4 separate regions of the Homo sapiens genome follow, and regions 1, 2 and 3 are each linked to region 4. The links are contacts of gene promoters, found by promoter capture Hi-C in human tissues and cell types (Jung and others, 2019). All regions are on one chromosome and are shown on one strand. Each heading gives the region's core, a stretch centred on a gene start or on the middle of the fragment in contact. The rest is flanking DNA. Distances are from core to core; before and after follow the strand shown. Region 1 overlaps ASCC2 (activating signal cointegrator 1 complex subunit 2). Region 2 overlaps MTMR3 (myotubularin related protein 3). Region 3 has its middle 6.4 kb from the start of MTMR3. Region 4 holds the start of TBC1D10A (TBC1 domain family member 10A).

Evidence for each region. The method cuts DNA at HindIII sites, captures the fragments that hold promoters and counts their contacts. A contact is called where the count stands out against the background at its distance.
Region 1: a contact is called between a fragment that was not itself captured here and the fragment with the promoter of TBC1D10A in region 4, in 2 of the 25 tissues and cell types used here (H1 embryonic stem cells and hippocampus).
Region 2: a contact is called between a fragment that was not itself captured here and the fragment with the promoter of TBC1D10A in region 4, in 1 of the 25 tissues and cell types used here (dorsolateral prefrontal cortex).
Region 3: a contact is called between a fragment that was not itself captured here and the fragment with the promoter of TBC1D10A in region 4, in 1 of the 25 tissues and cell types used here (hippocampus).

What each region holds. Positions count from the first base shown.
Region 1 is chr22:29,825,609-29,830,729 of GRCh38, forward strand. ASCC2 (activating signal cointegrator 1 complex subunit 2) reads right to left here. Exons shown (of 20, transcript NM_032204.5): 3 at 14-172. Among named protein-coding and RNA genes, the nearest start is that of ASCC2, 10 kb to the right of the region's middle. The HindIII fragment of the contact is 7,224 bases long and covers 1-4,862 here.
Region 2 is chr22:29,985,053-29,990,515 of GRCh38, forward strand. It overlaps MTMR3 (myotubularin related protein 3), which reads left to right. Exons shown (of 20, transcript NM_021090.4): 6 at 3,428-3,510. Among named protein-coding and RNA genes, the nearest start is that of MIR6818, 19 kb to the right of the region's middle. The HindIII fragment of the contact is 5,304 bases long and covers 1-4,515 here.
Region 3 is chr22:29,874,345-29,879,163 of GRCh38, forward strand. No RefSeq gene overlaps it. Among named protein-coding and RNA genes, the nearest start is that of MTMR3, 6.4 kb to the right of the region's middle. The HindIII fragment of the contact is 5,221 bases long and covers 1-4,496 here.
Region 4 is chr22:30,323,214-30,328,567 of GRCh38, forward strand. It overlaps TBC1D10A (TBC1 domain family member 10A), which reads right to left and starts at 3,728. Exons shown (of 9, transcript NM_031937.3): 1 at 3,460-3,728. The coding sequence starts at 3,668. RefSeq lists an enhancer at 2,135-3,084 and silencers at 3,301-3,350, 3,651-3,980. The HindIII fragment of the contact is 10,227 bases long and covers 1-5,354 here.

The DNA of each region.
Region 1 (5,121 bases), core at 1-2,500, 500 kb before region 4:
GATAGAATGTTACCTGGCACCAGAATTTATCGTGAGGCAAGGCCAGGAGCCAGTCGAGGTCATTGGCTACGAAGGTGGCGCGTTCCAGGTACTCCTCCACTAGGGCGGGAATGTTGTCTTTAGGGGGCGGTTTGTATAACACAAAATACCGGTCTGCCTTCTGCTCGGGGTGCTACGGATCCAAAAACCACGTGTTAACGTGGCAGAGGTTAGTCAGCGAGGGCCCATTTGCCAACCCACAGCAATGACAACACTTGGCTGTTCCAACCGGTGACCCTCCAAGGAGCTTTTAAGCATAAAGAACCAAGTGTATCTAACAAAGAGGGCATGGTTGCATTCAGCGAACACTAGGCGGTAATTAAAATCCATGTTTTCGGAGTGGATTTAATGACACGGGGAAAGGTTAAGGGAAGAGAAAGCAGGATACAAAACTCTCTGTTTAATATAATCAGTTTTCATTTTCCTTTTTTAGTAAAAGGCAAAAGATTTATTTGTTATGAAGAAAAACCAGAGCATAGTTTTCGGTCTTTAAAAAGTGTAAGTATATTCACACACTGGTATTGATTTTTAAAAAAGAAGCTGGGGAGATGACGCCCCAAAGCTAATAGTGGTTATCTCTGATGGGGGCGGGGGGTGGTGAATTGTGGCTTGAATAGACTTTCCCATTAAAAAAAAAAAAAGAACATATATTCATATATTACTTTTGTTTTGTTTTGTTTTGTTTTTGAGACAGGTCTCACTCCCGTTGCCCAGGCTGAAGTGGAGTGGCATAATCTTGGCTCACGGCAGCCTCTACCTCCTGGGCTTAGGTGATCCCCCACCTCAGCCTCCCAAGTAGCTGGGACTACAGGTGCACACCACCATGCCTGGCTAATTTTTTTTTAGTAGAGATGGGGTTTTGCCATGTTGCCCAGGTGGTCTCAAACTCCTGGGCTCAAGCCATCCGCCTGCCTTGGCCTCCCAAAGTGCTAGGATTACAGGTTTGAGCCACCTCTCCTGGCCACATATATTACTTTTTAAATTAATTTTTAATTATATAATTTGACACAAGCATCTTTTCTTTCAAAAACTTACAAGGTACAGAGAAGGTGAGCTGCCTGGGACTACACTCCCAGGCCCCATGTTCCCTGCAGAGGTAACCACTCACCATCTGATGGGTGTCCTTGCAGACCTCTTCCAGGCATTTACATTAAATTATACCCATAAAGGCCAGGCACAGTGGCTCATGCCTATAATCCCAGCACTTTGGGAGGCTGAGGCAGGCAGATCACGAGGTCAGGAGATCGAGACCATCCTGGCTAGCACAGTGAAACCCCGTCTCTACTAAAAATACAAAAAAATTAGCCGGGCATGGTGGCGGGCGCCTGTAGTCCCAGCTACTCGGGAGGCTGAGGCAGAAGAACGGCGTGAACCCGGGAGGCAGAGCTTGCAGTGAACCGAGATCACGCCACTGCACCCCAGCCTGGCTGACAGAGCCAGACTCCATCTCAAAAAAAAAAAAAAAAAAAAAAATTATACCCATGAAACAATTTGTCTGGGTCTGTTCTTTCCTTTTTTTTTGTTTTTTATTTTTTTGTAAGTAAGTCTCAGCGTAGAATCACAAGTTCTCCCTTCCAGCCCCTACTTGCCATGAACAAACCTTACTTTGTTCACCATAAAGAGGAGATGGGCTCAGTTTTCTCCTCTGACTACATAACGGGTGCTTTCTCTGGGGAAGTGGTAGCAGGAGGATGGCCAGGCAATGTGTCAGCTCTTATCAACCACAGTCCATCCACTTCCAGGTCTGTTGATCCAGGGGATATAGAAAAATTGAGACTGATAAGAGGTCAGCCTCCTCAAGAACCATCTATGCCTTCCTAGTGCCTTACGCGAGTTTCCAAACTGTAGAGCCTGTGGGTACCACAAGGATTCTTCAAGGCCACCTCTCATGTGGGTCTGCAGGACCCCCTCCCATTTAAATCAAATTTGTATCATGGAGTTACAGGTACAAATCTGTTGAAAAAGAAATTCTGCTGGCTGAAACAAGTTCAAAACAACTGTCAGGAGCCGAAATACATCTCCTTGGTTTCCAAGCTTCCTCCCTCTTCTATCTGTTGGCACTTTACCTCTTCCCTCACTTCTCACTCAGGCCAGGCTACTCATTCTCCCGACACACACACACACACACACACACACACACACACAACCAGGCTACTCATTCTGACACACACACACACACACACATACACCCAGACTACTCATTCTCCTGACACACACACACACACACACACACCAGGCTACTCATTCTTCTGACACACACACACACACACACACACACACACCAGGCTACTCATTCTTCTGACACACACACACACACACACACACACACACACCCCTGAGATTCTACTTTCCCTACAATCCCACAGGGGGAAGATGGACATCTAAATCACCAAGTGAGCACAAAACAAAGGAAGTGACAGCTCAAACCTGGCAGAGGGACTGTGGAAATGCAGAAGGGAATTAATAGCACCTGGAGGATAAGGGACGGCTTCCCAGAGCAAGCAGACTTCCTCCAAGGCTCCAAGCATTCGAGGATAAGGACTTCAAATGGAAGAAACATTTTTATGGAGGCATAAACATGGGTCATAACAAAAGGGCACAGATTGCACTGGGCGGTGGGAGACAGATTTGGTGAATGCTGGAATGGTGCAAATGAAAGCTGCCACTCATTGTGGACCTGCCCTGTGCCAGCCACTAAGCAGGCACAACCCACAGCCCCTATTTTTTTAATCTACAAAAACTATTTAAAAGAGACATAGTATTCATCCCATTTTAGAGGAGGAATCAAACAGTAAGTTTCAGGAACTTTCCCAAGGTCATGGGATTAAAGAGGCAACTGAGGCAGGATTTGAGCCAAAGCTTACACTGCAGACCTATTAAATGACCTATGGTATCTGTGTGCCATCCTGGTCTCACTGATTGTCCTTCTGACCCCAGTTCCAATCTCACCTCTTCCAGGAAGCCTCCCTGACTCCCATCCCAGCTGGATTAGGAGCTCATCTAAGCTCTCCCTCAGCACCTGCATTCTGTGCTCACCTCTCTATACCACTTGAACAGCATTAAAAGTGCTTTCAGATCAGTGGTTTGGATGGGGAAAGGGTGGGAGGAAGGCATGGATTGCAGAGAGGCACAAGAAAACTTTCAGGGGTGGTAGAAATGCTCATTGATGATGATAGTTTCATGCATGCATACAGATGGAAAAACCAATCAAATTGCATATTTTACGTTTTAATTTTTAAAATGTTGGCTGGGTACAGTGGCTCATGCCTGTAATCCCAGCACTTTCGGAGGCCAAGTCAGGCCCATCACTTGAGGCCAGGAGTTTGAGACCAGCCTGGCCAACACTGTGAAATCCCATCTCTTATCAAAAATACAAAACTTAGCCAGGTGTAGTGGCACGCACCTATAGTCCCAGCTACTCGGGAGGCTGAGGCAGGAGAATCACTTGCACCTGGGAGGCGGAGGTTGCAGTGAGCAGAGATCATGCCACTGCACCCCAGCCTGGGCAACAGGTTAGACTCCACCTCAAAAAAAAAATTCCCTTTCTTTTCATAGGTGTTGGCAAATTGTATATTTTAAATATGTGCAGTTTATTGTCCTTCAACAATGCCTGAATAAAGCTGTATAAAAGGGGAGGACTGGTCTTCCCAGCTGTCTCCCCCACTAGCTTGTAGGTGTCTGGAGGCAGTCTGAGCTTTGCTCACCCAGCATTCCGAGTCTATAGAACACCACCTGGCATTGAGCAGACTTTCTGTACAGATCTGCTGGCTGGACAAAGAAATGAATGGAGGCTGACTGGACGTGGTGGCTCACGCCTGTAATCCCAGTGCTTTAGGAGGCCAAGGCGGGCGGATCACAAGGTCAGGAGTTCGAGACTAGCCTGGCCAACATGGTGAAACCCCGTCTCTGCTAAAAACACAAAAATTAGCTGGTCCCAGCTACTCAGGAGGCTGATGCAGAAGAATCACTTGAACCCGGGAGGCGGAGGTTGCAGTGAGCCGAGATCGCGCCACTGCACTCCAGCCTAGGCGACAGAGCAAGACTCTGTCTGGGAAAAAAAAAAAATGGTTTTGCCATGTTGCCCGAGCTGGTCTTGAACTCCTGGGCTCAAGTGATCTACCTGCCTCAGCCTCCCAAAGTGCTGGGATTACAGGCGTGAGCTACCGGGCCTGGCCACAAGACTATTTCTTTTGGGTCTTCAAGTATGTGCTATTCAAATAGATCCTCAACCAACATTAGCTCTACCAATTACCCTGAAAAGGTGGTGTGGTAACTACCCTTTGGCTAGAGATCATGCCCCAAGCCAAGACTAAAGGGACAAATATAGGGTGGACACATATCTTAGTACAATCTTTCAGGAGCTGCCCGTGGCCTTCAGAGTAACACTCTTCAGTCTGCCAGCAAGACCCCTCTTCGATCAGGCAGCTGTCTCCCTCAACTCATCTGCCTTCCCACCATACCCCCAATTTAGTGCTGCTGTTGTTGTCCCTGCTGTCATCACCATTGTAATAACAATTTATTGAGTGCTTACTATGTTCCAGGCACAGTGCTCATTCACAGGCATCTCATTTAATCCCCACAACCACCCTGCAAAGCTGGTCCTATTATTATCGCTTTTGGATTTGAGGCTTAGAGAGGTTCAATAACTTGCCCAAAGACACAAAGACAAATATTCAAATATGTGTGAAATGAACACGAAGCCTGTACTTGCTAACTCTGCTATACTGTTGCCACCTCAAGTGACTTGTGGTTAGTGTAAGAGTCAGGATCTCTCAAGACTCCAGAACTGCATACTAAGGTTGTCCTACCAGGTCCAGCCTTCTCCTGTTGCTCTGCCCAGCTAGTGTTAAGTTGCCCTTCAATACCCAGTTCAGAAGCCCTTTCCTTCAGGAAGCCCTCCTGGGCTGCACGTACCCTCCCACCAGGCCAAAGCCTCCCTGCCCCTACACACCCCACTGGTCTGGATCGGCGGCCCCGGCTCTGCACTCATGGAACAGCCTAGACTTCCTTCTGTCACAACCCTGATCACACTAGAGAAGCTACTGGTCTGTCTTTCTCTTAGGTCGTGGGCTCTTCAAGGGC
Region 2 (5,463 bases), core at 614-3,113, 340 kb before region 4:
GGGTATCTCTAGTTATAGAAATGTTAAGAGATTGTTTTCATATGTGAGGAAATTTGAACCTAAAGCAGTGTAGTGGGCCTTAAGAAAATAGAGAAACAGTATGTTTTGGATGGAGGTATGAACAGGAAAAGAAGGTCAATTCTGCCTTTTAGAAAAGGCAATCTGGACTGGGTGCAGTGGCTCACACCTGTAATTCCAGCACTTTGGGAGGCCTAGGCGGGTGGATCACCTGAGGTCAGGGGTTCGATACCAACCTGGACAAATGGCAAAACCCCATCTCTACTAAAAATACAAAAATTAGCTGGGCGTGGTGGCTGGGATCACAGGTGCCTGCTACTCAGGAAGCTGAGGCAGGGAGAATAGCTTGAACCTGGGAGGTGGAGGTTGCAGTGAACCAAGATCGCGCCATTGCACTCCAGCCTGGGCAACAGAACGAGACTCCATCTCAAAAGAAAGAAAGAAAGAAAGAAAAGGCAGTCTGTGCAGGAAGTGCTGAAGGGAAACACTGCAGTAGAAAGGAGAAGAAAAGGGAGATATTTGTTATAAAAATCAGGTGTTTCTCTTTTGTATGTCCCTATTCTTGCTGCGTATTAAGCTTTCCTGCATGTGACAGTCTGCATGAATATTAAAATCTGCTGTTCTCCGTATCTGTGACTTGTAATACACATGGTTGATTTTGGTGACTTGCTGGTGTCTGCAATCTGATTTCAATGCATAGAACCAACATTCTAATTCTTTTTTCTTCAATTTAAGATGTTAAAATATAGAAAAAAATATGTATATATTGCCTGAATTTTAGGTAGCAAATGTTTTGCATGGTCTGAGATAATTTTATGATATTAAATTTGGGCACGGGCCATTGGGCTCTGGTTTAGTAATAAGGATGTAAAACTTACCTGTTCTTTGTAGCAAAGTAGCAAAGGCTAATCCATTTCCCCCAGCAGCTGCTAAGAGCATTAGCTGGTTTTCATGTCTTCTGTCCATAAAGAAAGTCAGTTGCAGGGGACTTGGGATGCAGGTGACTGCTGCAAGAGCAGCCTCTTCTTGTGGATTTGTAAAGCTCACTCTAATCCTATCCCAGACTCTTCCCAGGCCCCATGACTGAGATTTCCTTAGTTGTGACCAAGGTTCAGAAAGCAGAGGCTGATGGCACATGGGAAGGCTGGAGGCTTGCCCAATGAAGCCAGCAAAATTTTAATTGGTAACATTTTAGAAAATTGAGATTAGAACTCACGGCTCTTAATTGCCAGTCTGGCAGCCACATTTTGGGGGGATATAGTGAGTAAGGTAGTTAGCAGGAGTATATACAAAATAAAAAGCAGTAAGTGTCTGTTACAGGCTACCCAGAGAACTGGCCTGAGAACAAAGCAAAGTTATCTTCTAATCTGTCTTCTTAATCTCAATATTTCTTCTTTATAGTTTTATCTCTGATAAATTGTAGGTTTGTTTGTTTTTTTTTTTCCTTCTTAGATGCACAGGTCTCAGAAGAATTCTTAGTTGCATCAGTTGCAGTTTCTCACAGCACCTTGGGGTTAAGGACGTAAATAAAAACAGAAGGCCAAAAGCTCCTTTTGTTCTCAGAACACAGGCAAGATTTTTCTTTTTTCTTTTCTTTTTTTTTTGTTTTTGAGATGGAGTTTTGCTCTTGTTGCCCAGGCTGGTGTGCAATGACACGATCTCAGCTTACCGCAGTCTCTGCCTCTGGGATTCAAGCGATTCTCCCGCCTCAGCCTCTGGAGTAGCTGGGATTACAGACATGCACCAAAATTACAGGCATGCACCAAATACAGGCATGCACCAAATACAGGCATGCACCAAAATACAGGCATGCACCAAAATTATCCGCACCTGGATAATTTTGTATTTTTAGTAGAGATGGGGTTTCTCCATGTTGGTCAGGCTGGTCTCAAACTCCTGACCTCAGGTGATCCGCCCACCTCGGCCTCCCAAAATGTTGGCATTACAGGCGTGAGCCACCGTATCCGGCCAAGATTTCTTAGTCTTTTTCTGACCCCCAGTCCTATTACATTTGTAAGGGAATTTTTATAGACTGTAGACTTAAAAGCAAGAAGACTTTAGTCCTAAGGTAGAAACTCCCAGTCATTTATCTGAGTAATATTATTTTGCTTTCTTCTCTTCTTTAACCCCTGCTCCAGTTTCTGTTTCTTTGTCCAGCACTGGGCTTCTTTTTGATCCCTGCATCCTCATTCTGAGAGTTCTGTGCTGACTGGCAGCTCTGTGGTGGGGCAGAGTTTGCAGGAAGCTTGTTCCTGAAACTGGCTCAGCTAACACGAGGGCCAGCCTGTGCAGACAGTACTCTTGTTCCTGTCTGCATTGGAGGAGACTGTCCTCCTCTTTGCATACTAAACACAAGTTGTTGGAATGCTATTTGCAACTCCCAGAGCCACATTTTGGCTAGACTTGATACACTGTAAGAGGCAAATGGCCCACTCCTTTTTCAAGGAGTAAAAGTATTCACTATTATTTTACCAGGTTTGCCTTGAAAGCCTAGAAATTGCTTTTTGAAGCCAAGGGTTGAATTAGGATGATTTAAGGGATAGGAGGAGGATCCTCATATTATCCTGAAGATTTGGCACCCTGTCTAGATGCTTTTGCTTCTATCTGTCTCCCTTCTCTCTATCTGCTGTTGTACATAATCCTGTGTCCAGTAGAGTCTGTAGACCAGATTGGCAAGGGGGAACCATTCCAGCTTGTTCAAACCTCAAGCCCCATTTGGCAAACGGGGCTTCTAACTGATTTTTTGAAGCAAATCTGACATAGTTATTATAGCTTTAGCATCCTTGATCACTGTATGGCCTTCTCCCTCCTTTTTGATACTTTTGGGTCTATTCTACTTAGTAGAGAGCCTGGCCAGCAGCTATTGCCCCATTGTCTTTTCTGTGCAATCCACAGTCAGCTTAGAACTCTAGTCTTTTTCAGGAGCCTCATTGGCTGACACTAAGCCATAAGCCCACTCTGTCATTTGGGGCAAACAATAGTCTCCCACTGGCATTCTGATCTGTAGTTCTTTTCTATAAGCAAGAAAAGATTACTGTTCTGGCTCCCTTCAGCTTCTATGTCATTGCATCATTGCAAATCATAGTCAGTTATAGCATCTAAAAGTAGTACTCTGATCTTGTGAATTCGGTGCCTGAGAGATATATTCTCCCCTTCTTCCAAAGGTGGTGCCACCTCTTTGTTGCCTTCATGCTATGACATGACTTGAGACCACTGATTTAGAGATAAAGGGAAGTCCTAATTCACTTTGTAGTAAATCACTTGAGTACTGTTGATCCAGATAAGTTTGCAGTTCTATTTTTGTTGCTTTCCCTTATAGATCTTTTTAATTAGTCTTGTTGGACACATTGAAGAACTCCAGGGTCAATGCCTTTTTGACTAAGAGGACTTCATTTTTTTAAAATTGCAGGTTCCATTACAGCTTATAGAAAGTGTTGAATGCCGAGATATATTTCAGCTTCATTTGACTTGCAAAGACTGCAAAGTTATCAGGTATGTGGTATGGTATGTTTGTGTTGCTGTTTAGTGTGGAAAATATTTTTTAAAGAATGGGTCCATTATTTGGTAACTTAGTAAAATACCTTTTGATGATTAGCCTCATTAGGAATATTTTCTGAGTAGTTTGTGCCTGAAATATTTTATCTGTAGGATGTATACTTTGCTATGTTGAAAGATGTTTTTTTTTTTTAATTTGGAAATAATTTTAAATTTACAAAAGGGCAAAAATAAAAATACTAAAAAGAACATCAGTACACCATTCACCCAGATTCACTTGTTAACATTTTACCATTTGCTTTATTATTTGCAGAGGCGTGTGTGTATGTGTGTGTGTGTTTCTTTTCCTGAACAGATTGAGAGTAAGTTACGTAATCATGGCTCTTAACCCCAAAATACTTTAGTGTGCTTTCCTAAGAATAGGGATATTTTCTTACATAACCATAACATTATCAATTTTCAATTTTACATTGATAATACTTACATCCAGTCTACTATACATGTTCCAATTTTGTCAGTTCACCTAATGACCTATTGATACTTTTTTATAGCATTCTCCCTCACCTCCATCTCATTCAGTACAGGATCCAGTCTAGGTCATATATTGCATTTAGCTGCCATGACTCTGTAGCCTTCTTTAATCTGGAACATTTTCTTTTTGTTTTTGTTTGTTTGATTTTTGAGACAGAGTCTTGCTCTGTTGCCCAGGCTGGAGTGCAGTAGCACGATCTCAGCGCACTGCAACTTCTGCCTCCTGGGTTCAAGCGATTCTCCTGCCTCAGCCTCCTGAGTAGCTGGGGTTACAGGTGTGTGCCACCACACCCGGCTAATTTTTTGTATTTTTAGTAGAGATGGGGTTTCACCATGTTGGTCAGGCTGGTCTTGAACTCTGACCTCGTGATCTGCCCGTCTCGGCTTCCCAAAGTGCTGGGATTACAGGCATGAACCACCATACCCGGCCAATCTGGAACATTTTCTACAGCCTTATTTTCTTTTATGACATTCACATTTTGCAGAATACAATCTTTTGTTTTAATGGAATACTTCTCATGTTGTGTTTGTCCAGTATTTCCTCAATTAAATTGAGGTTCTATTTTCTCAACTGGAATACTGTATATATGATGTCACATCCTTTTCAGGGTATTGTATTACATCTGGAAGTACAGTGTCCACATGTCCTTCATTGGTGATGTTAATTTTGATTATTCCAGTCGAGATGTCACCTGGCTTCTGTATAATTTCTGCGTTTTCTCTCTTGCAACTAAAAACAGTCTGGGGGAGGCACTTTGAAACAATGCAAATGTCCCTGCTTCTCATAAAAATTTCTCCATAAGTTTAGCATTCATTGATGATTTGTATCTGCGCTTAACTATAATGGTTGCAGGCTGGGTGTGGTGGCTCACGCCTGTAATCCTAGCACTTTGGCAGGCCGAGGTGGGGGTGGATCACTTGAGGTCAGGAGTTTGAGACCAGCCTGGCCAACATGGCAAATCCCCATCTCTACTAAAAATACGAAAATTAGCTGGGTGTGGTGGTGCACGCCTGTAGTCCCAGCTACTTGGGAGTCTGAGGCGGAAGAATTGCTTGAGCCTGGGAGGCAAGAGGTTGCAGTGAGCTGAGATCACGCCACTGTACTCCAGCCTGGGTGACAGAACAAGACTCCATCTGAAAAACCAAAAACCAACAACGATGCCTGAAATGCATTTTTAAATTTAATAGCTCTAGAGGTCTTAAATTCCACAAGTTTTTACTGCATTCCTCTGACCTCTTCTGGGGTGTCAGTAAATATTATGTGTTGGCATACTGATGAGCCACCATGATTGGGATGAGAGAGAGGTTTAAGTGACCCCTTGGTTTTAAGATAGATATTTATATTGCTTTTTAGTCAGTGAGATTTGGCTTATTTTTGATAGATACTGGCTACAACTCACAGTTTAAGAAGGTAGTTGC
Region 3 (4,819 bases), core at 636-3,135, 450 kb before region 4:
GATGTATGGTTTGCTAATATATTCTCCCATTCAATAGGTTATCTTATTACTCTGTTGTTTTCTTTGCTGGGCAGAAGGTTTTTAGTTTGATGTAGTCCCATTTGTCTATTTTTGTTTTTGTTGCCTGTGCTTTTAGAGTCATATCCAAAAAATCATTTCCCAGACCAGTGTTATGAAGCTTTTATGTTTTCTTCTGGTAGTTTTAATTTCAGGTCATATATTTAAATCTTTAATCCATTTTGAGTTGATTTTTGTGTATGGTGTAAGATGAAGTTCTAATTTCATTCTTCTGCATGTGAATATAGTTTTTCCTAGCACCATTTATTGAAGAGACTGTCTTTTCTCCATTGTGTAGTTGTCATCTTTGTTGAAAATCAATTGACTGTAAATGTCTGGATTTACTTGTGGCCTCTCTGTTCTGTTTCATTGGTCTGTATGTCTGTTTTTATGCCAGCACCATGATATTTTGATTAATATAGCTTTGTTATTTTGAAATCAGGTAGTGTGATACCTCTGGCTTTGTTCTTTTCATTCAAGACAGATTTGGCTATTCAGTCTTTTGTGGTTCATATGAATTTTAGAACTTTAAAAAAATTTCTGTGAAAACTGTCATTGGAATTTTGATAGGCTAGTATTGAACCTGTAGATTGCTTTGGATAATACAGATATTTTAACAATGTCAATTCTTTCAGTCCAAAAACAAGGGATATCTTTCTGTTAATTTGCCTTCTTCAGTTTGTTTCATCGTTGTTTTATAGTTTTTAGTGTACAGATCTTTTACCTCCTTGGTTAAATTTATTTCTAAGTATTTTTCTTTTGGTAGCTATTGTGAATGGGATTGTTTTCTTGATTCCTTTTTTGGATAATTAGTTGTTATGTTGTTAGTATACAGAAGTGCTACTAATCTTTGTGTGCTGATTTTGCATCCTGGAACTTAACTGAATTTGTTTATTAGTTCTAATGGTTTCCTGGTGGAGTCTTTAGGGTTTTCCATACATATGATCATGTTGTCCGTAAACAGAGACTATTTAACGTCTTCCCTTCTGATTTGGATGCCTTTTATTTCTTTCTCTTGCCTAATTGCTCTGGCTAGGATTTCCTGTACTATGTTGAATAGAAGTGGTGAGAGTAGGGGTCCTTATCTTATTCCTGATCTTAGAGAAAAAGTTTTCAGCTTTGTACCATTGAGTATGATATTAGCTATGGGCTTGTCATATATGGCCTTTCTTATGTTGGGATACATTTCTCCTATACCTAATTTGTTGGGAGTTTTATCATGAAAGGATACTGAATTTTATCAAGTGCCCTTTCTGTGTCTATTGAGATGATGGGATGGTTTTGCCCTTCACTCTGTTAATGTGGTGTATCACATTTATTGATTTGTATATTGATTGATATTTATTGATTTGAACCATCCTTGCATCCCAGGGATAAATCCCACTTGATCATGGTGAATGATCTTGTTAATGTGCTGTTGAATTTGGTTTGCTAATAGTTAAAAAATGACGTTATTTAAAAAATATCATGGTAAATCCATGATGTGTTAACATAAATGACATATTTTTATGTAAAAAATCTATATTTTCTCACACAAAAAATTTCATGAGAAGAATGGCATTGTTTTTAACATGTTTGCAATTTTCATTAAAGTCTGACAATGGAAGAATTCTGCATTCTCATATCTGCTTCTGCATTTAGTCTGGGGCAATTTGTTTTGGTTAAAGTACATGAAGAAAATGCAGCCTTATATATTTCAGTTCATTGTGGATATTCTTTCTTGATACTACACCAAAGGTTGGCAGGTAATAGTTTCTTAAAGTTTATTTGCATAAATTCATATCAATGAATTTTTCATACTCACACTAAAATCCATTGGTCTACCTTATACTTTTTTTTTTTTTTTTGAGACAGTCTCACTCTGTCATCCAGGTTGCAGTGCAGTGGCACGATCTTGGCTCACTGCAACCTCTGCCTCCTGAGTTCAAGTGATTCTCCTGCCTCAGCCTCCCGAGTAGCTGGGATTACAGGCATGCATGGCCACGCCCAATAATATCATGCATTGGTCATATGGAAAATATTGGTTTACTATGTAGTGCTTTAAAATGTTGGCACATTTCATTATATGATATAAAATATTCATTTTGCTAATATCACCAACCGTCTCAGCAGATGTATTGGGAAGGTATATTGGGAGGCTGTCAAGCTCATGGTGGGACATTTAAGTTTTCCAAAATTGTAAGTAAGCTTGAATTTTATCATTGACAACAAATACTATTAGCTGTCTTACTAGATGTGACAAACCTACTTCATATATTTTTGAGAAAATGTCTGCCAAACACCCAAATCTGAGTAACTGTAGTTTGCATGTTAACCATTCTTTCAAGTAAAAATGATATTTCCTTAAACAAGAGGCTAGCTCATCTTGCAACTCAAACAATTGCAAAAGTGTTTTTCTTTGAGACCACTGTCCTACTTCTGAATAGTAAACGTGCTTTTTGTGTGTGGGAAATAAGTGCCTAATAGGTAGAGGGCTTTATTTTACAGTGATGAAAACGTTTTGGAATGGGACAGAAGTAGTGGTTGCATAACATTGTGAATGCACAAAATGCCACTGAATTGTCCACTTAAAATGATTAATTTCATGTTATGTGAATTTCACCTCAATTGAAAAAGTGAAAAAAGGGCTTTATGTGTAATTTCCAATCCATCACACAGAATAGTAAAAAGGCTTGTATTCAAATATATAGAGATAATAAAATACATATTTTTTGTTACTGCTTCATCAATGATTTTCTTAAGTGAAACTGGCATTTTGTTTACTACTAGGGTATGTTGGTGAAGAGTACAATGGCTACTAGTACATATCATATCACTGCCTTGATTTGTGATAAAGTGCCACCAGTTTTACTACCACTGCTTTTGCACTATTAGTGCAAATGTCAACACAGTAAAAAGGCAAACAATTTCTTAGTATTATTAAAATAGTTTTTATTTATTTTATATTTATTTATTTATTTTGAGATGGAGTCTCACTCTGTCGCCCAGGCTGGAGTGTAGTAGCGCAATTTCGGCTCACTGCAACCTCTGCCTCCTGGGTTCAAGCGATTCTCCTGCCTCAGCTTCATGAGTAGCTGGGATTACACACGCCCGCCACCATGCCCAGCTAATTTTTGTATTTTTAGTAGAGATGGGGCTTCACTATATTGGCTAGGCTGGTCTCAAACTCCTGACCTCAAGTGACCTGCCTGCCTCGGCCTCCCAAAGTGCTGGGATTACAGGTGTGAGCCACCACTCCTGGCCTATGAAAATAGTTTTGACCCAACTAGAACCCTGAAAAAGTCTCAGGACCCTCCAGGGACCTGTGGACTATGCTTTGAGAATCACTGCTCTAGGCTCAATCAGAGTTGAAATTACCCTCTCCTACAGTAGGGTTGCAGTGTGGTGTTTGGAAAATCCCAGGAGACATTGAATCACAGCAACATGATTCAACTCTAATTTCTGTCTGACCCGTGGCAAATTGTTCCTCAAAGTCTGAAAACCACAGTTACTCCTGTCTGCTAGCTGGATTGGGAGACCAAGGAGATGCTGAAGAGATTATGGGCTAATTCACGCAAAGTGCCCACTGAAATGAGTGACATTTAGAGTTAAGCAGTATTACCCAGTGTTGGGAAGTCTGCATTTTGGGAGGCTGAGGGACCCCTGCCTTCCAGGGGCCCTGCATGACTTTAGGAAGCCTCCAACCCTCAATCAGCATTTTCATCTGTCTTAGGCTATTTCAGAGTCCCTGTGTAGCTGGAATAACATTTTCAGCTTTGAAGATAGGATGGGGAGCAAGGCTGAAAGGACAGCAGGAGGAGGAGGAGACGGTCAGGCGGGTAGAGGACCTCACATGAGAAATAGGGCAGCGAGATGAAGCGAGGATTGGTTCCCTCTTTCCTTGAGTCAGTGCACAAAGCTGGGGCTTTGTCTTCAGCCAAAGCACACAAGGAACCTGTGCACTGCTTTGGCTTTAAATGGAATATAAAACGTTCTCAAACCCATTACCTTAAAGAACCCTAACATGCTTCTTTTTTCTTTTTCTTTTCTTTCTTTTTTTTTTTTTTTTTGAGACAGAGTCTCGCTCTGTTGCCAGGCTGGAGTGCAGTGGCGTGATCTCGGCTCACTGCAATCTCCACCTCCCAGGCTCAAGCGATTCTCCTGCCTCAGCCTCCAGAGTAACTGGGACTACAGGCGCGTGCCACCACACCCGACTAATTTTTGTATTTTTAGTAGAGACAGGGTTTCATCATGTTGGCCAGGATGGTCTCGATCTCCTGACCTCATGATCCACCCGCCTCTGCCTCCCAAAGTGCTGGGATTACAGGCGTGAGCCACGGAGACCGGCCAACATGAGTTAAGTAGGTTAGTGATTACCACCCTAGAAGGCGATGAGGAAACTGACGCATAGAAAAGGGAAAAGAGAAGCAGATATGAGGAGGCGACAAGATTCAAATTTAAGTCTTTAGACACAGACCAGCTTTCTATTGAGTCTCCTTAGGCCCTTCTTCTTGAGGTGAGTTTTCAAGGCCATGCTGCAGTTTTCTCTTTCTTATTTATAAATAATTTACTAAAGTCTGTCTTAAAGGTAAGCAAGTGGGCAGCAGTGGTGATGAGGTGTAGTAATGAAGTTGACAAGCATGAACTTGGAGTCAAATCTTCTGGGTTCAAATCCTGACCTTTACACTTTCTTATGTGTAAAATGGAGGACAGTAACAATACCTTCCTATAGTGTTGTTGTAAAGATTACATTACCTTTAAATTTTATTTTATTTTATTTATT
Region 4 (5,354 bases), core at 2,478-4,977:
TTCCTGACTTGAAATGTCTCCCCGCAAATAAGTATTAATTACTCCACCGCAGGCCTGAGGAGAAAAAGGTGAATGAGCCTCTTCCCAGTCCTGAAGCTAATCAGTCTAATGAACTGGTAATGACAACATATTCTTATCCTTCTGGGCCACTTCTATTAGCCTCATATACTGCTGAGAGAGTCGAAAGTGCTGAGCTAAGTCAGGGAAGGTAAGAGCAGGCAGGTGACTGCTAAGACACTTCTGTTCTACCTGTCTGACACCTGATATCCTGCAGGGACGAAAGGCCATATTTATGGATGGTGAAGGCAGTGGAAACTGTACTGACCTGGGAGTCAGAAACCCTAAGTCCAAGTCCTAGTTCTGCCACTAATATGCTGTGATCTTAAGAAAGTTACTCTTCTCTCTGGGCCTCAGTTTCCTCATCTATGTAAGTAAGGGCTGAGCTGGTCAATCTATTAAGATCCCTTACAGGCCAGGCATGGTGGCTCATGCCTGTAAACCCAGCACTTCGGGAGGCTGAGGCAGGTGGATCGCCTGAGGTCAGGAGTTCAAGACCAGCCTGGCCAACATGGTGAAACTCCATCTCTACTAAAAATATGAAAAATTAGCCAGGTGTGGTGATGGGTGCAATCTCTGCCTCCCAGCTACTCAGGAGGCTGAGACAGGAGAATCACTTGAACCCGGGAGGCAGATGTTGCAGTGAGTTGAGACTGCGCCACTGCACTCCAGCCTGGGTGACAGAGCGAGACTCCGTCTCAAAAAAAAAAGATCCCTTACAGTGCAGTCTATGGTTTTTTTAATCTACTCATGCCATGTAGCTAATAGTCACCTCAGTAAGGTAGCCTGTGACCTGCTTTCTTACCCCCAGGCCTGGCAACTTCCACATCCAAAATGTCTTAAGACAACCTTTGGCCCAGGGTAGCTGAAATGGACCTTTAATCTGGAGTCAGAGTCCCCACCATCTCCACAGTACCCATGAGGGCTAACGTTTCACTTCTCTAGCATAGAACATGGACTCCTAGCCTTCAACCACGAGACTGGGTTCAGGGCGGTCACCCTGAAGCTTTCCATAACTTCCCCTCTATGGCCTTGGGCAGGGACTTACTCTTGGCTTTTTTGAAACCACAATATAAATTAAGTAGGGAACATCGAAGCTTTCAGATACCAGAGATTTTAGGTTGACTGACAGGCTCCAGAAAGTGAGGGAAGGAGAGAGGACTGGAGCTGGGATCCCACCTCAGCCCCAGCCCTACAGACAGCAGCCATGTAGAGGGTGTCTGCAGAGCCACATCCCGGGTTTGTGGTTGTGGGGTAAGAAAGACAGATGTCTGGCTGCCTGGTTGGGGACTACAGCCAAAGGGAGGTGCTTCCACTGGGGCCTCACTCTGCCCACAAATACCAGAGATATGCCCTCATTTTTCTCTTCATTTCTCAGACCCTTAGAAGGAAAGAAAGAAAACTAACATTTTCTGGGCCGCTACTTGTGACAAGCGCTGTGCCAGGCACCTTCACGTATCATATACTCATTTAACCCCCAGAGTAATGTTGGGAAGTGGGTGTTACTGTCGCCCTTTACAGTGAGTAAACAGGCTCAGAGATTCAGGATCTTGCCCAAGGTCACAAAGCTAGCAAGTGTAATTCCTAAGTTTGGCCTTTTCCTAATATATCACATTGCTCTGCACCCCAAGATCTGGTTGATTGCCTGATAAGCATGTAGTAGGAACTCTCATGCCCTAGCATTCTCCCACAAATCTGAGCTCTTCCTTCCAAGGTCCCATAAATGCAACTGGGAACTCCTTTCCTAGATCTCAAGACCACACACCTCCCTGGGTCCTAATCCCAGGTGACTGCTCCTCAATTCAAAACACTCCAGGTCCCCACTAAGTTCTCACAAGTGAATCCCTGGGGAACTGTGACAAAGCATCAGTCAGGGTGAGGGTTCAGAATGAGGGGTGCTCTCTCTGAGTCCTGGACTAAACCTAGCCTGCTGTGAGCCAGTAGGGAGATACTGGAGGAGACAGATCCAGTGGGTGAGAGGGAACTCCCCTTAGGGGAGGGGCCTGGATTTCTCCAAGGAAGAAGGAGGCCTGGTGAATAAGAGGCTTTAGGGCTGGGGAAAATCCCGGAAGTGACAGGGGTTCTTAGACAGTTAAAGCGCTTCCATAAGTCATGAGAGAGTCTGGGGTGACCTTGGACAATCTCAATTGGTCAGAGAAAGGGAGAAAGGATATTCTCTGGAGTAGGGTCATGGCAGGGCCCCAGGAGCTCCTACTGGTGATTGGGATGGAAAGCACACATCAGGAGGGAGTCTTGTCAGTTCTGTGCACAACACTGGTCTCACGTGACAGGACAGCTGGGATGGGAGTGGGGTATGGAGTCCATCTTTCCTAAGGGGACCGCCAGCCTGTACACATGATCTCTGAGGCCTGGGCTCGGGGGATTCTGTGGGGCAACATGGGGCCCAGCTTGGAGGCAAGGTGCTGTTCCACTGCCCCACATTTCTCTGTCTGCTAGCTGGGTGTCTGGGTGCTCTCGGGATAGGACATCGGGGGGTGCTAATATGAGCAGGGACCCTGCTGTCTCCCTGCCTGCCCCCGTCCCACGCCCAAGATCTGCCCTTGGGAGGAGGCGCATACATACACAGGACATACACAGAGCCCATCTACTGGCTCCTGTGGCTGCTGGAGCTGATGGTCTGTCCTAGTGGTGGGGCTCCCTGTCGCCCTGTACGTGCTGGGAAGGGGGAGTACCTGCCCACCTGTTGCCAGTGCCAGTGGAGGAAGCTGTGTATGAGCGGATAGGGGGCCCTTCTCCGACCCTTCCATGAGGAGAAGGGACTGTCTGTCCCAGGATGGAGCTGAGGGGAGGGAGGTGACCAATGTCTGTCCATCCAGAGGTCTGTATGCCTCGAGGAAAGGGTCAGTCTGTCCTGGGAAGGGGTGGGGGCGGGGCAGTCAGTCCTGAAGTCGGTCTGAGGTCTCCTGGTGTGGGGGCAGTGAGGCGGGGAGACAAGGGCGTCTGTGGGTTTGTGGGAGGGGGAAAGATGGAGAATGAGTGTCTATGGAGGGGGGCGCCAGCCATCTGGGAGCCTGTCGGGGTGGCAGAAACAATCATCCCTAAGGTCTTGGCGGCAGGGGTGGGTTTGGGGCAGTCTGTCATTCTGTTCCACGGCTGGAAGGAGGGCACAGTCGGTCCTTCCTGGGAGCGGGTCAGTCTGTCCGGAGGGTGGAGGTGGCGGGTGGAGGTGTGGGCCCGTCCGCCCCCTGGGTCGGAAGTAGGACTGCGAAGGGGGCGGGTCTAGGAAGGCAGGGGTGGTGGGGGTGGGGCAGGGGAGGGAACGGGGATTAGTGGTCCCTGCCTGGGAGGGGGACGTGTCGGCAAGTCCCGAGGGCGCCTCCGTCCGTGTCGAGGCCCCTCGCGTGGGTGGCGCGCTCAGTCCCGACCCCCGGCGCTACTCACGCGCCCTCGGCGCCCTGCGAGCCCACGATGAAGCCGAACTTGTCGATGCGGCGCTCGGCGAAGCCGTTGGCCTCCGAGTCAGACCCGAGAGAGCTGAGTTCGTCGGTGGTTGCGGCGTCGGGGCCCTGGGCCAGGCTCTCCCGGGTTCCCGACAGGCTTTCCCCGGCCGCGGGCGCGCGCGGCCCATTCTCTCCGTTGCTCTTCGCCATCCCAGCCGCGCCCGCCGCCTGAGCTCCAGCGGCCACCTCAGCCGCCCTGCTGCCGCCGACGCCCCGCCCACGCGCGGCGCCTATTGGCCGCCGCAAGGCCGGGGGGCGGGGCTCCAGGCCCACCCCGGAGCTCTCCCCCCACGCCCAATGGGCGCCGCGGACCCCGGGCCCCGCCCACCCTCCCCCGGCGGGCGCCAACAAGCCCGAAGTGAGGGGGCGGGGCAGCCGTCACCGCAGCCCTCCCCGCCCTCCTCCGGGCTGCCAATCACAAGAACTCACCTGGACGAGCTCGGGCCTTTCCGGGTTGGCTCCAAGCGGGGCCTGTCACCTACTGCAGAGCGCGAGCCGGAGGCCCAGGGCTTCCTCCATGGATTCCTCATCTGCCTCCTGAGCCCCGCTCCCTGCGAGACCCCAAGGACGTGGTAGGGATTGTTTGCCCCATTCATTTATGAGGAACTCTGAGGAGGCCCAAGTGAGTTCAGGGACGCAGAGCGGCTTAAAGGCCCAGCCTGAGCCAGAAGTCTGGCAGTCCCATTGCACTCACTGCTTCTGGGGCTTTAAATTACCTCGTGAGACCTAATTATTAATAATCACCAGCGTTTACTGAGCCACGCACGCCCGAAGCTCTACCTACTTTCTCCTGTAGTCTTTTCCCCAGCAGTTTTATGGAACATAAACATACCATAAATTCACGTTTAAAGTGTACAATGATTTTTAGCATATTTACAGAGTTGTGCAGCCATCACAACATTCTAATTTTAGAACATTTTCATCACCCCAAAAAGAAACTCCTACCAATTAGCAGTCACTCCGCATCCTGGCTCCCCCAGTCCCTGGCAACCACTAATCTGCTTCCTGTTTCTATAGATGTCCCTTTTCTGGATATTTCATATAAATGGAATTATACAATATATGGCCTTTTATGTCTGGATTCTTTCTCTTGAACATTTTCAAGTTTCATCCACATTGTAGCATGTATCAGTGCTTCTGGATTCACATCTGCCCCAGGTATGTCTGACTCCACCCCTCCCTTTCCTGGGATAGGCCCACACCGCCATGAAAGACCTATACTGCCCCTCCTGGGAGCTGGGACTATACCAGATTTTGTTTTTCCATTCATCAGTGATGGTCATTCGCGTGTTTCTAGTTTTTAGCCATTATGAATAATGCTGCTCTGACCATTCAGGTACAAGCTTTTGTGTGGGGGCCTTATGTTTACATTTCTCTTGGATAGATAAGGAAGAGTGGAATTGCTGGGTCATATGGCAACTGTTTAACCTTTCGAGGAACTGGCAAACTGTTTTCCAAATTGGTTGCAACATGTCTTGTAATCTCTTAGCAATGAGGTATACACCATTATTAGTCCCATTTTACAGTTAAGGAGACTGAGGTAAAGTCAGTTGCCTAAGGTCCCAGAATTAGCTGTGAATATAGCCAGGATTCGAACTTAGCTCTTACCAACTGCCTATATTTGGAGGGATGGGCCGATTTTATCTATATGGGCTTAGCCCCAAGCAGCTGATTTCTGACCCTAGAGATTGTCAACTCTTGGATCTATAATATAATGATAGCTCCTCGCTTATGTCTAGTACTTTATGGTTTACAAGTCACAGTATATTGTCATCTGACACTCCCTGCAGACCTGTGGGAGAGACAGGCCTAGAGAGGGGAAGGGACTGGAAGACT